Regions from separate parts of the Homo sapiens genome. Here region 2 is linked to region 1. Evidence: promoter capture Hi-C in 16 types of primary human blood cells and fetal thymus (Javierre and others, 2016). All regions are on one chromosome and are shown on one strand. The core of a region is centred on a gene start or on the middle of the fragment in contact, and the rest is flanking DNA. Distances in the headings are between cores, read along the strand shown.

Region 1 (7,225 bases), core at 1,542-4,041:
CACAGTAGCTGAATGCAGAAAGAGTTTTCTAAATTATACATTAACCATTGTTGCTCAAATCCACAAATCAAAATCTAATCTTTGTTAACTACTACAAAAGTCATAAACCTAATCTTTGTTATTTATACAAACACCAGCAAAAGTGTCAATCCAAAATTTACCCAACTTTGAAAAAAAAAGTATCTTTGTGCATCTGAGTGTACACAATGAAATAACCCCAAAGAAGATTCTCAACAATTGTTTGAATTTTTCCCTAAGTAAATCATATGCTATCCTTTGGCACCATCAAATGCAAAACAAATATTCATTCATATTCTTAGCTAAATGTAAAAGCTTCTGAAAAAAATCATTAAAACAAAATTCTAAGTAAGAATAACCAAATTTTGCCCCAAATTTCTTATCTTCCTTTTCATTTCTAAAGGTGTCTTAAAAATCAAAAGCTTCTAGAAAATTAGTATTAATCTGGCCTTCTTTATTCATAACCATAAAACACGAAAGGCAGTGGAGCTGTCCAAAGACCAAGCTTGCTGCAGTATTATCTTACAGAGATGTTTTTCCATCAAAATTACTCATAAATTTATTTGCCCTAAAAAATAAGTCTGCTACTCTAAAATCCTCCACTACTCTACAATTCTCCCTTTCTTTATGCCATTTTGTTAAATGGGTGAGTTACCAACTACAGCATGAAACGTCCCGCACAAAGCTAAAGGCAGCTCAGGAACTCAAAGCCCTCAGCTCTGATTTAATCTCTCCCCCAGTAAACTTCCTTGGTTGGTTATCTGCCTTTCTCTGAAATGATTTCTTAACATTCTCCAGCAACTGAAAACAATAAGCAGAAATCTGGTTGATTAATCAAAAGAAACAGATTCTCATCTTTCTCTATCCCAACAACAGTGCGTTCTCCATTGAAAATGAAAATGCTGTCCATAAAACACAGCCCAGCACTTGTCAGGTGCAACACTCCTACAACACTAAAACTATCACATCACACGAGTACACCCTAAATAAGCACACCCTTTCCCCGAATTATCACAACACTAGTGAAATGCAGAGGTTTTCAACACCCAGAGTTTATACTTTATCATCCATACAAGAAAAAAATCAAATCAAAATGAGTCTCATTTCTTCAAAGTGGACAGGAAAGTCAAATCAAAAGCAATGAAGGGTGGAAGCAGATTCAAGATTTCTTGAGAGAAAGAGGTTTCTGGAATTTCCTACTTTTAGGGACAAAAGGATTCACAGTTTCAACACACAGTTCTCTCCTCAACAAAGAATTCCTTTCCTGCACCCCCCACCTCTGCCCTTACTTTTTAGTCTTTACCCCTGTCTCTAGGTCCCCTTTCACTCACCATGGTTCCTCGTCTTCTGCACCAAAGGCTCTCTTACACTTGATCTTTCACTACAGCATTTCTGCCCTGACCCTTGCAGACCTTCTGGAGCAACTCCCCATAACACGCACATTCGATTCCCACCCCCCTGCAGTCTACCCCAGTTCTACATCCATCAGGACTCCCCCAGCTTCTCTTAGCCCCCTCTCTTCCCTTACTCCCCATCTCATCCTTTAAATTCTGGGGCCCATCTCTTCCTGCTCCTCTCACCATTTGCTTTTAGCCCTGTCTCTTTACCTCACTGTTTTCACCTTGGATCTTGCTGAACCTCTTCAATTAACGTAATTACCCAGTTATCCTTGTCCCAGATGGCCATCACTTCTTACACCCTAACTCTAGTCTCCTTTCAGCTCTTCTGGTCCCAGAATCGTCCTACAGACACCCATCTCTTATCTGTTTCCTTTCGCCCTTCCACCACACTCTTATTCCTGACTCCACCTGGTTCCAGTCCAGGTCTCATTTGCCCTCCCTCACTTTACAGAATTTACATCCATCGCCCACCCACTAACCCATTCCTTTCTCAGAACCTCGCCAGCAGTTCCCACCACACCGTTGGTCCCAGTCCTTCAGCTCATCTCGCTCCGCACTAGTTCACACCCTCGTCACGTCTGGCTCTTAATCACTCTCTCTTTCCTACTCCCAACTATTACCCCAGCTCTGCCCCTCCTTGTCTTCCACTTCCAACACTTACCCCGGTACCCCTCACCCCAACACCACCCGCTACGAAGATTTCCCCTTCAAACCCCTGCTCTTACACCTAACCCCAGGATCCCTTTCCCCAGCCCTAACCTCATTCCCTGCCCGGCTTCCTTAACGCCCACCCTGGCTTTTGCCTCCTTCCTATCTCCTTGGCTGGCTTTTTCTCACTCCTCCTCTCCCTGGCTTCTAACCCTTTCTCCCCTTAATCCTCCTCATCTCATTCTCAACCCGGTTCCCCTCATCGCCTCCAAGCCTTCCTTTCCCTCTCCCTTCAACGCTTTTGCCCCAACCCAGCCGTCGCCCACCCCGCCAAAATAAGGCGCCCGCGCGCCCCGACTCCCGGCTCTCGCCTCCCGCCGCCCCCGCCCCGGGCGCCCCCAGCCCGCCGGCGCCGCGGTCCCGCCCCCTGCCGCCGCTCCTCCCGCCCGCGAGGCGCGCGCTGCCTTTGTCGCCCCTCACCCGGTGTGTGAGGATTTTGCTTCTTTAAAGGGGAGGGCTAGTGAGCCGGAGACTCCTATCCCCGCCTCCGAGTCTTAGAATGGGCTCCCTGGCCGTCGCGGCCTCCCCGGCCCCCGTTCCCCCTACCCCCTGGAGCTACCCACTTTGCTGCCTCCCCACCTCCTCCGTCCCCTCCCCCGGCCCCCTCTATTTACCGCCATCATCAGCACGCGCGAGCTGTCACCAGGGCGCGAGACAACCGAACACGGCCCCGCCCCCTGCCCGTCTATTGGCCCGCCCGCTGGAGCCCCGCCCCTCAGGCCCTGCATTGCGCCAACGGCGCAGCGCTGGGCCGCGACCCCGGCACCGGCACCCGTTCCGAGGGTTCGCGCCGCAGGCGCAAAGTTTAGGGTCAGCCACAAACGCGCGGCCGCTTTGAGCCTGGCGTAAGGGGCGGCGGCGTAGGGGGACGTTGTGAATAGCTGGTCGAAGTTTGGTTGAAGCACAGGAGGGTAAATAAGAAGGTTTCCAGACAAAGAGACTCTTAAAGGTACAGACTCTTATGTCTGTCCCTCCTCCTTAAAGGGCCAGAGACGCTCCCGAGCCCATCTCCGCCCCCTTCTTCCCGGGGAACTGTAAAGGTATTTTACATGAGTTTCCCATACTCTTTTCGGTTCACCTTTAACACCTCTCCCCACTGCGAAGGACAAAGGCTTTCTCACTATCCCGTCCGTATGTTTTGTTTTATTCTGTTAAAAGACGTTATTTCTGTGTTGTTCCTAAAGCAGCAGCCCTCAAACCGTGGGGTTTCCGGAGGCAGCGTTTGCAAAAGTTACTATTGGCTCCCAGGCGGGTGAGCACGTGTCTGGCTTTTGCCACAGATGACCCAAGAGAGATTCAGCTGTTTTATGGAAATCCCCCACAAGTTAGAGGATCGCTGCCGGAACTGAAGAAGTTCAGCAGATTGTAAGGCTTGGGAAATAAACCAGACTGACTTGGTAGTGGTCCATTGGGAAACAGAACAGCACCTAAGCTACAAAAGGCTTAGGTTAAGCAGTCTCCTAGGTGCACTGTCTTGAAACTACTTGCGGGGTGGTAGTGGGGGGAGGGGATGGGAGTCTCCCAAAATAAGATCAACAATTTCAACACCCAACACATAGCTAAGGCAGATAAAGACTTACATTTAAATATAAGGACAAGTAAAAGAAACAGACATTAGCTATAGTAGTGGCTCAAGTTACACACCTGTAAACAGGAGAACTAGGTAAGCACAAAAAAAAAAAAAAGAACACCACACACAATAGGAAGGGGGAAACTACAATGCCTGGACCAAGCGCTGTGTAGGCAATTTATTAACAACTTGCACTTTTAAAAGAGGTTTGATAGAAGGAGAGGAAGTGGAGTGTTTCAATTTGGTTTGGTCGGGATTTATCATGAGGTTCAAGGCCTCAGAGTTAGATTCAGAATTTAGCTCTCCCTTTGTCGTCCATCACAGTTAACATAATTCTTTTTAAGGAATTCTTAACATTATAACTCTAATTATATGTCTTATTCCCTTACTCAACAATCCCCAAGAAAATTCTTGGAGAAGAAAGATTGTTACTTATTCAATGTTAGTTCCATAACAAGGTGCTTTTGCTGAGTGAAGAATTTGGGAGCCACTTAAAACTTCCAATGGAAGGGATGCTCCCAGAATAGCAATACAGGAGGAAAAGTTTCTCAGTGATGTGAGCATGTATTAGATCAGTGTTCTCAAAAATGTGGCCTGGAGGCCGGGCACGGTGGCTCACGCCTGTAATCCCAGCACTTTGGGAGGCCAAGGCAGGTGGATCATGAGGTCAGGAGATCAAGACCAGCCTGGCCAACATGGTGAAACTCCGTCTCTACTAAAAATACAAAAATTATCCGGACGTGGTGGCGTGTGCCTGTAATCCCAGCTACTCAGGAGGCTGAGGCAGGAGAATTGCTTGAACCAGGGAGTTGGAGGTTGCAGTGAGCTGAGATCGTGCCACAGCACTCCAGCCTGGCAACGGAGTGAGACTCCATCTCAAAAAAAAAAAAAAAAAAAAAAAAGTGTCGCCTGGAAAGGCCTAGGGATCTCTGAGACCCTTTGGGCTGGGGGGATAGTGGGGTGCCTGAGATCAAAACGATTTTCCTAATAATACTGAGACATATCTGCATTGTCACTGTGATGATATTTGCACAATGATACAAAAGTAGCAATGGGTAAAACTGCTGCCTTAGCACAAATCAAGGCAACTGCACCAAGTTGTGCTAGAGGTCAAGGTATTCTTCACTGCTACAGTAAAAAAACACCTGTTTCAGGCCGGATGGGTGCAGTGGCTCACACCTGTAATCCCAACACTTTGGGAGGCCAAGGCAGGTGGATCACTTGAGGTCAGGAATTCGAGACCAGCCTGGCCAACATGGTGAAACCCCTCTCTCTACTAAAAATACAGAAATTAGCTGGGCGTGGTGGCACGCACCTGTAATCCCAGCTACTCGGGAAGCTGAGGCAGGAGAATCACTTGAACCTGGGAGGCAGAGGTTTCAGTGAGCCGAGATCGCACCACTGCACTCCAGCCTAGGCAACAGAGTGCGACACTGTCTCAAAAAAAAAAAAAAAAAAAACCACCTGTTTCATTTAAGAGGTCTTTGATGAAGACAATAAAAATTGTTTTATTTAAGTACACGTTTATGTGATTAAATGCATGTATGTATGCATCAAGCACTTTTAAGTACAACATTTGTCTTGAGGAAAAGCACTCTTGCAATTTGAGTTTGGAGCTGAATTAATAGCTTTCTTCATGGAACACCGTTTTTATTTGAAAGAACAGCTAACAGACTAGTTGTTCACTGGATATTTGGCAGACATGTTCTTAAAAATAAAGTAGAGCCTGATAGCATTGTCGGTTATGATAAAACTCAAGCCTTTATTTTTATTTTTGGAGACGGAGTCTCACTCTGTTACCCAGGCTGGAGTGGAGTGGCGTGATCTCAGCTCACTGCAACCTCTGCCTCCCAGGTTCAAGCAATTCTCCTGCCTCAGCCTCCTGAGTAGCTGGCACCACAGGCACACGCCACTAACGCCCAGCTAATTTTTTGTATTTTAGTAGAGACAGGGTTTCGCCATGTTGCCCAGGCTGGTCTTGAACTCCTGAGCTCAGGCAGTCTGCCCGCCTCAGCTTCCCAAAGTGCTAGGATTACAGGCGTGAGCCACCGCACCCGGCCTGATAAAACTCAAGCATTTAAGTCAAACAGAATTTCTAACAACTGACTTGTATCTCCCAATGTAAGTTTGATAGCTTCCCATGACTTTTTCTAATAAGACTGGTAGTGGGCCAGGCACGGTGGCTCATGCCTGTAATCCCAACACTTTGGGAGGTCAAGGTGGGCAAATCATTTCAGGCCAGGAGTTCGAGACCAGTCTGGCCAACATGGCGAAACCCCATCTCTACTAAAAATAAAAAAATTAGCTGGGCATGGTGGCGCATGCCTGTAATACCAGCTACTCAGGAGGCTGAGACACAAGAATTGCTTGAACCAGGGAGGCAGAGGTTGCAGTGAGCCGAGATCATGGCACTGCCCTCCAGCCTGGGCAACAGAGCAAGACTCTGTCTCACAAAACTAAAATAAGTCCGGGCACGGTGGCTCATGCCTGTAATCCTGGCACTTTGGGAGGCCGAGGTGAGCGGATTGCCTGAGCTCAGGAGTTCAAGACCAGCCTGCGCAACACAGTGAAACCCCATCTCTACTCAAAATACAAAAAAAATTAGCTGGGTATGGCGGCATGTGCCTTAGTCCCAGCTACCCGGGAGGCTGAGGCAGGAGAATTGCTTGAACCTGGGAGGCGGAGCTTGCAGTGAGCCGAGATGGTGCCACTGCACTCCAGCCTGGGCGACAGAACGAGACTCCATCTCAAAAAATAAAATAAAATAAAATAAAAATAAAAATAAATAAATATGATTTTTTGATACTGTATAATGTGTCAACATTTAGGAGATGTGCAGTGTTTTCCAAATGACCAATGCATGACACTACAAAATCACACATTAGTAAAAGATCCATTCAAAGTGCAAAATAAGGCCAGGTGCAGTGGCTCACGCCTGTAATCCTGGCACTTTGAAAGGCTGAGGCAGGTGGATCACTTGAGCCCAGGAGTTCGAGACTAGCCTGGGCAATATAGCGAGACCCCCATCCCTAAAAAGAAAAAAAAAAAGTGCAAAATAAACCAATAAATATTAATGGAATATAAAAAGTTCACTAATATACTTTGAGGTTCCACATTGCAACTAACCTTTAGCAGAGTTTTGATAGCATCAAAGAATATCCACAATTATCTGAAAAAGTTATGAATATATTTCTCCCTTTTTCCAAATACACATCTGTGGGAGGCTGAATTTTCTTCATATTCTTCAACCAAAATAACATTGAAACAGACTGAATGCAAAAGCAGATATGAGTATTTCACAGTCTTCTATTATGCCAGACATTCAAAAGATTTATGAAAATTAAAAACAATGCTACTCTTCTCAAGAAATTTTGTTTGGAAAAATAATTACTTTTCCTTAAAAATATTTTATCAGCCAGGCACAGTGGCTCATGCCTGTTATCCCAGCACTTTGGGAAGCCAAGGTGGGAAGATCGCTTGAGCTTAGGAAGTTTGAGACCAAGCCTGGACAACATAGCAACACCTCATC
Region 2 (7,225 bases), core at 2,532-5,031, 270 kb after region 1:
AGCCTGGGCAACAAGAGCGAAACTCTTTTTTTTTTTTTTTGAGATGGAGTCTCGCTCTGTGAGTGTGAAGCACAGCGTGACCAAGTAGGAGGGTGGGAGACAGGAAGCCCTGGTGGAGGGCAAGCTGGAGGGGCCCCACAGGATAGAGAGGTCGAAGGCCTGACGGAGCAGTGGCAGGGAAGAGGGAGGGGAGGGCCACACAGGAGCCAGGCCAAGGACACGGACAGACGATTGGATGCAGGGAAGGGGGGTGGGGAGGGACTGAAGATAATCCCCAGGTTCCTAGCCTCTGGGAGCTGGCAGTTGCCTCTGGTAGGTAGGCAGAGTTCTGCAGCAGCAGGGGGCCAGGTCAGGGGACCCTGATGGCTCTCCCCTGCTCTGGAGGTCCCTGGCTCCATGGTCAGCACAGCAGTGCTCCAGAGTGGCTCTGGGGGCTTCTGAGCAGTGGCTCTTTCTCCTCCCTTCTGCCCCTGGCATAGCAGTTGAAGTCCCAGTATCCAATGCCTCAGCTCTCCCCTTCTTTCCCCCCTCCCAGGACTCACAGAAACCCTCTGTACCCAGTCATGGGCCAAAGACACCGTCATGCAAGGGGGTGAAGGCTCCACACTCGTCCCGGCCCCGGGCGTGGAAGCAGGACCTCGAGCAGTCTCTGGCAGCAGCCTATGTGCCGGTCGTTGTGGACTCTAAGGGGCAGAATCCGGACAAGCTCAGGTTCAATTTCTACACCTCCCAGTACTCCAACTCCCTGAACCCCTTCTACACTTTGCAGAAGCCTACCTGTGGCTACCTGTACCGCCGGGACACTGACCACACCCGCAAGCGCTTTGATGTGCCTCCTGCCAACTTGGTCTTGTGGCGCTCCTAGGCCTGAGCCAAACGGAAGCCCCCGACCCTTCACCCTCACCCCTGTGACCTCAGGTCCCCAAGGGGAAGGGCTGCTCACTGCAGGAGGAGTGACCTATATTCGGGCTAAGACAGCTGTGCCATGCCCACCTATTGACAATGATAAAGGGAGGTCTCTCTTCTCAGCAGCAGTTAAAGTTTGTCCTTCCTTTCCCTGGCATCTGAATGGGTGGCTGTGGGTAGGTAAACAGGCCATGGGGATGTTATACAGTAAGGTTATGTCCAGAGGTTTCTGAAGACTTGGAAGGACTTGATTCTCAGTTCCCTAACCCCAAAAGTAACCTCAACCCTTCTCCAGAGCTGAGTCCCAAGCAAAGCCCATCCTAGCTCCAGCCTCCCGATGGTCCAGGCTCGGACCCCTCCAAGGAAGAGAGGGTGGGTGTGGTGGCTCACACCTGTAATCCCAGCACTTCAGGAGGCCAAGGTGGGCAGATCACCTGAGGTCAGGAGTTCAAGACCAGCCTGGCCAACATGGTGAAACCCCGTCTCTACAAAAATTAGCCAGGCATGATGGCAGGTGCCTATAATCCCAGCTACTCGGGAGACTAAGGAATGAGAATCCCTTGAAGCCAGGAGGCAGAGGTTGCAGTGAGCCGAAATCATGCCATTGCACTCCAGCCTGGGTGACAGAGTAAGACTCCGTCAAAAAAAAAAAATTAATTTAAAAAAAGGAAGAGATCCATCAACTGGCCATGACTCCTGCTCTCTTACAAGGTCATCTTACCCTGGTTGGAGCAGCTGCTGCAGAATGAGGAAGAATGCAGGGAATGAACACAGACTCTAGGTCCCCTCCCAGACCCAGTTTTACATAAAGCTGCTGCTTCTGACTTGTAGTTTGTTGGTGGGGGAAGGATTTCCCATCCTTGCCGTCTCCTCTGGTCTAGAAGAGCTGGCTCTGAGGCTAGTTGAGCTCATGGGTCATGGGGCATGGAAGAGGGGGATGGAGGCAGAGGGCACTGGATTCACAGCAGGGGCCTGAGTGAGTTCCCAGTCACTGCCATTCAGAGGGAACCCCAGTGGTGTGCTGGAGCCAGCTTGTACTGACTTGTAAGAGCTGGTTGTGCCCATGTCTTCCCTACTCCACAATCAGTGATTTCTTTTTTTTTTTTTTTTGAGACGGAGTCTCGCTCTGTCGCCCGGGCTGGAGTGCAGTGGCGTGATCTCAGCTCAGTGCAAGCTCCGCTTCCCGGGTTCACGCCATTCTCCTGCCTCAGCCTCCTGAGTAGCTGGGACTACAGGTGCCCGCCACCACACCCGGCTATTTTTTTTTTTTTTTTTTGTATATTTAGTAGAGATGGGGTTTCACCATGTTAGCCAGGATGGTCTTGATCTCCTGACCTTGTGATCTGCCCACCTCGGCCTCCCAAAGTGCTGGGATTACAGGTGTGAGCCACCGCACCCGGCCCACAATCAGTGACTTCCTGTTGGCAGTTTGGAATCAGCTGTGGTGGGAGCATTTACACCACAGAAGTGAGCAAATGCCTACAAATTGGAGTTTCTTTTTTCCAGAGAGCTCATCATTAAACATTTACCAGCACACCACAGGGTGAATTCAGCTGGTTTCATTCCTAGGAGTCTCGTCCCTCTGTAGGTATGGTGGTGTATTCTGTGGGGCATAATTCCTGTGCAGGAGAGGTTGGGGTTGGTGTGGGAAGGAGAGACAGGTGTCCAGAGACCCCGACAAGCAGCCCACAACAAGGCCAGGCTGTCCTGTGGGCCTTTCTTTGAGAAGATGGTAAGCAGTGTGGAGGGAAGTGGAGACCCCTCGAGGCGACCCTAACAGCATAGAATCCGCGTTTTCCTCTTGGCTTGCTGTAGGCTCTCTTTTGAGTTAGAGGTTTTCCTCAAATGCCTGATGAGCCTTGGCTGGCCTCAGACCATCTGGCATCTGTACCAGGTCTCTCCTTCTGCTTGGTCATCAGTGTTCAAGGAGCCAGCCACGGGAATGAGCTGGGGTGGGGGAAGGCGCATGGTGGTTTTCTCACTGTCCATATGTAGACTTTCTTTTAACGCTCCATTTATAGAATGGCACATGTCTCTTCCTGAGGCTGTGCCTAGAGACTAGCGGCTCTCTGGCCCAAATCTCCAGAAGAACCTTCAATCAGGGTCAGGAGGGGACTGATGCCGGGAGATGCCTGTTCTGCTGCCTTGCGGAGGGCATCGGAGAAGCTAAGTGTTCCTTATGCAAACTTTGGCCAGCCCTATTTTCTGCTCCACCTGTGCTGCATCCCAGCCTTCAGGGGCACCTGGTATCTCTGCCTCCCTATTCCTGCAGCAGGAATAGGTTTGTCCCGAGCTCCGCAGGCTCCTCCTCTTTGAAAGCATTTAGGTTTCGACTTTCTCCACTCTCATAAGAAAGACAGTTACCACTTGTCCATCTGTCTTGTTTTCCAAAATTTTATTAGAACCCCTGTATCTGCTGTCTTTTTTCCTCTTTTCTTTTCTTTCTTTCTTTTCTTTTTTCTTTTTTTGAGATAAGAGTTTCACTCTTGTTGCCCAGTCTGGAGTCCAATGGCGGGATCTCAGCTCACCACAACTTCCACCTCCCGGGTTCAAGCGATTCTCCTGCCTCAGCCTCCCGAGTAGCTGGGATTACAGGCATGGGCCGCCATGCCCTGCTAATTTTGTATTTTTAGTAGAGACGGGGTTTCTCCATGTTGGTCAGGCTGGTCTTGAACTCCTGACCTCAGGTGATCCACCTGCCTCGGCCTCCCAAAGTGCTGGGATTACAGGCGTGAGCCACTGTGCCCAGCCCCTTTTTCCTTTTTTGAGACGGAGTTTTGCTCTTGTTGCCCAGGCTGGAGTGCAATGGTGCAATCTTGGCTCACCATAACCTCCTCCTCCCAGGTTCAAGCGATTCTCCTGCCTCAGCCTCCCGGGTAGCTGGGATTACAGGAATGTACCACCATGCCCGGCTAATTTTTGTATTTTTAGTAGAGACGGGGTTTCTCCATGTTGGACAGGCTGGTCTTGAACTCCCGACCTCAGGTGATCCGCCCGCCTCGGCCTCACAAAGCGCTGGGATTACAGGCGTTAGCCACTGCGCCCGGCCTCCTTTTGTCTTTAAAACATGCATTTATTCATATTTTAGTGGGATTTTGAAAAGAAGCAGAGATAAGTGGAAGTTTTCAGTCTATGTATAACTAGAAGTCTTGCTCATTCAATCAGTCAGTCACCCAACAGACCCTGTGGGCTGTGTCCTTAAGATGCAAAGATATTAACAGGAACCGTCCCTTCCCTTCCAGATCCTATAGCCTGTGTAGGGTGAGGGGCAGGATCCCCATGAGGCGTCTTCACTCCCACAACAAACGCCTCCTCCCCTACCCTGGAGAATGGGCTCCCTCTTGAGGTTCACCTTGGTAATGCAGCCTCCATGGACGCCCTTAGAAACCCTTTAAAGAAACCGGCCAAGGTACCACCTTGTTTTGAGTGAGATAGGCCCAGGAGGCAACTGAACCTGTGCTCAGGGTCCTTCTGTGTTTCTGTGGAGTAGAGGGGCAAGCAGGCAGCCTTAGGGGGGGATTAGTCTGGCCTGGATCACTGCCCCTCCTGTCTCTTCCTGGTTTGTCTTCCTACCTCTCTGCAGCTGCCCCATCCTCCCTCCCCTCGGCCCCATTCCGCCAGGTGGAGCCTCTTCCTCTGATCTGGCTTCTGTCCCAGGAGGGATTCCTGCAGGCAGAGCAGCCAGGGAAGGCAGGAATCCTCCCTGTGTATGCTGTGTGACCTGTACTCTGGCCCTCTGTGCCCTAACGCATACCTTGTGCATACTGCTTCCTTGGGGCCTTGGTGTTGATCTCAGTCCTCCTTGCCTTGGCATCCCTGTCTCAGGGGATTCCATTCCCACCCTGGGCTGGAGACAAGGGGTGGGGGCCCTCCTCCCTCAAAGGGAGCAAGCTCTCTGTCAATGGAATTGTTGGGCAGAGGGCCACAAGGGGAGGACTGAGGGAGATGGCGCTGGAGTGAGGGGCTCGTGGGGTCCCCCTGGCTCTATCCAGCCCTTCTGCAGGGTGTGAAGGCTTAGGAGAAAAGCATGATGATGAGGTGGGAAAACTTTGGTACCACCACTAAAGTGCTCGTGAACCTGAGCAGGTGATTTAAATTTTCTGCCCCAAGCCCCTTTTGTCTCACATGGCAATAATAATACCCACCCCACAGGACTTGTGCACCTATTCAACAAGCATAGTTTCATCCAATTTTAGCTTTTTGAGAATTCTTTCTTTCTTTCTTTCTTTTTTTTTGAGACAGTCTCGCTCTGTCGCCCAGGCTGGAGTGCAGTGGTGCGATCTCGGCTCACTGCAAGCTCCGCCTCCTGGGTTCACGTCATCCTCCTGCCTCAGCCTCCTGAGTAGCTGGGACTACGCCGCCAAGCCTGGCTAACTTTTTTTTTTTTTTTTTTTTGTATTTTTAGTAGAGACGGGGTTTCACCATGTTAGCCAGGATGGTCTTGATCTCCTGACCTTGTGATCCACCCATCTCGTCCTCCCAAAGTGCTGGGATTACAGGCGTGAGCCACCATACCTGGCAAGAATTTTTTTTGATTTGGAGCTTCACTCTTGTCACCCAGGCTGGAGTGCAATGGCACGATCTCGTCTCACTGCAACCTCTGCTTCCCAGGTTCAAGTGATTCTCCTGCCTCAGCCTCCAGAGTAGCTGGGACCACAGGCGTGCACCACTATGCCCGGCTTATTTTTGTATTTTTAGTAGAGACAGGGTTTCACCATGTTGGCCAGGCTAGTCTCGAACTCCTGACCTCAGATGATCCACCCGCCTCCGCCTCCCAAAGTGCTGGGATTACAGGTGTGAGCCACCCTGCCCGGCCTAAGAATTCTTTTCTTTTCTCTTTTATTTTCTTTTCTTTGACGAAGTTTCGCTCTTGTTGCCCAGACTGGAGCACAATGGCGCGATCTCGGCTCACTGCAGCCTCCGACTCCCAGGTTCAAACGATTCTCCTGCCTCAGCCTCTGGAGTAGCTGGGATTACAGGCACCCGCCACCACACCCGGCTAATTTTTGTATATTTAGTAGAGACGGGGTTTCACCATGTTGACCAGGCTCGTCTTGAACCCCCGACCTCAGATGATCCACCCTCCTCAGCCTCCCAAAGTGCTGGGATTACAGGCGTGAGCCACCGCGCCCGGCCCCAAGAATTCTTTCTTTAATCATATGTGCATGCATGCATGCACTCAATATTTTACTGGGCTCAAGCCCGTCAGTCAAATATTACTCTCAAAACGGTAATTTAGGAGAGTTGATGTGGGGACTATTAACAGAGAGCTGGGCATAGTTAAGGGAATGGTGATGTACCCAGACAGTAGCGAGAGGGAAGCCCTTATCATGCCTGGCGGGGCAAAGGGAGGGAGCCATGATTACAGGAGCCCAGAGAGCTATGGCAGGAGCGGTGATTGAAGGTGGAAGGAAATAACCGCTGCCCCAACCCTGAGCTGGCAGGGAGGAGTGAGGACAACAAATGTCCCAGCTCTTCTCCCTCTCCACCCTCCAGTCTTCCTCCAGCTTCTCAGCAGATGAACCCAGCCTGAAACAAGAGGGCAGCAGAGTCTGGGTGATGCAGTCTGTAGGGTCAGTCTTTGGGGCTCAGAGCTGGAGGAGAAAGGGGGAGAATGAGTCGGGGCTGGGCAAACAGAACAACTAGCGCACGACAATGTGGAATGTGTGGTGCCAGGAGCTGGGGGCAGGCGAGACACAAATAACAGAATGGTCTCCACCCTCTGTGAGCTTGCTGGGTTCCTTAGAGCAGGCTGGCAAGAAGAGTTGCCTATATAATACTTCTGGAAAGAAATGAATGCTATGTCCGTGTTATTGTAGAAGAGTGAATGTCATAATAGACCCTAAGGTGACCCCAGTGATTTCTACCTCCTGTTGTTCCTACCTTTGTAAAATTCTCTCCCTTTGAGTGTGGGTGAGGCCCTTGACTTGATTCTAACCCATAGAATATGGCAAAGGTGATGGGACGTCTCTCTGTGGATTATGTTAGGTTATATAGACTTTAGCAGATTGCAGAGAGACTCTTCTCGCTGACTTGATGAAATAAGCAGCGTGGTGAGGAAGCTGGTGTAACAAGGAACAGAGGGCAGCCTCTATGACCTGAGTGTGTCCCCCAGGCAATGTCAAGTGAAAAGCCAGCTCCCTTGTCACATAGCCACAACAAAATGAGTTCTGCCAACAACCTGAATAAGTTGGAAGTGGATTCTTCCCCAGTTGAGCCTCCAGATGAAAATACAGCCCAGGTGACACCCTGAGAGCAGCCTTGTGAGACGCTAGGCAGAGGACCAGCTAAGCTGTGCCTGGACTCCTGGCCCATAGAA

What was found. Contacts are between HindIII fragments. The CHiCAGO score rates a contact against its expected background, and 5 or more counts as called.
Region 2: a contact is called between a fragment that was not itself captured here and the fragment with the promoter of USP49 in region 1, in 2 of 17 cell types (total CD8 T cells and total CD4 T cells). The highest score is 5.5, in total CD8 T cells.

What each region holds. Positions count from the first base shown.
Region 1 is chr6:41,892,584-41,899,808 of GRCh38, forward strand. It overlaps USP49 (ubiquitin specific peptidase 49), which reads right to left and starts at 2,792. Exons shown (of 8, transcript NM_001286554.2): 1 at 2,741-2,792. RefSeq lists enhancers at 1,551-2,065, 3,000-3,189 and silencers at 2,630-2,869, 2,658-2,950. The HindIII fragment of the contact is 15,191 bases long and covers 522-7,225 here.
Region 2 is chr6:42,162,385-42,169,609 of GRCh38, forward strand. The region is part of intron 1 of GUCA1ANB-GUCA1A (GUCA1ANB-GUCA1A readthrough); the gene reads left to right. CIMIP3 (ciliary microtubule inner protein 3) reads left to right here. Exons shown (of 2, transcript NM_001384994.1): 2 at 536-1,034. The coding sequence ends at 865. Among named protein-coding and RNA genes, the nearest start is that of GUCA1A, 7.4 kb to the right of the region's middle. RefSeq lists an enhancer at 3,355-4,322. The HindIII fragment of the contact is 8,730 bases long and covers 1-7,225 here.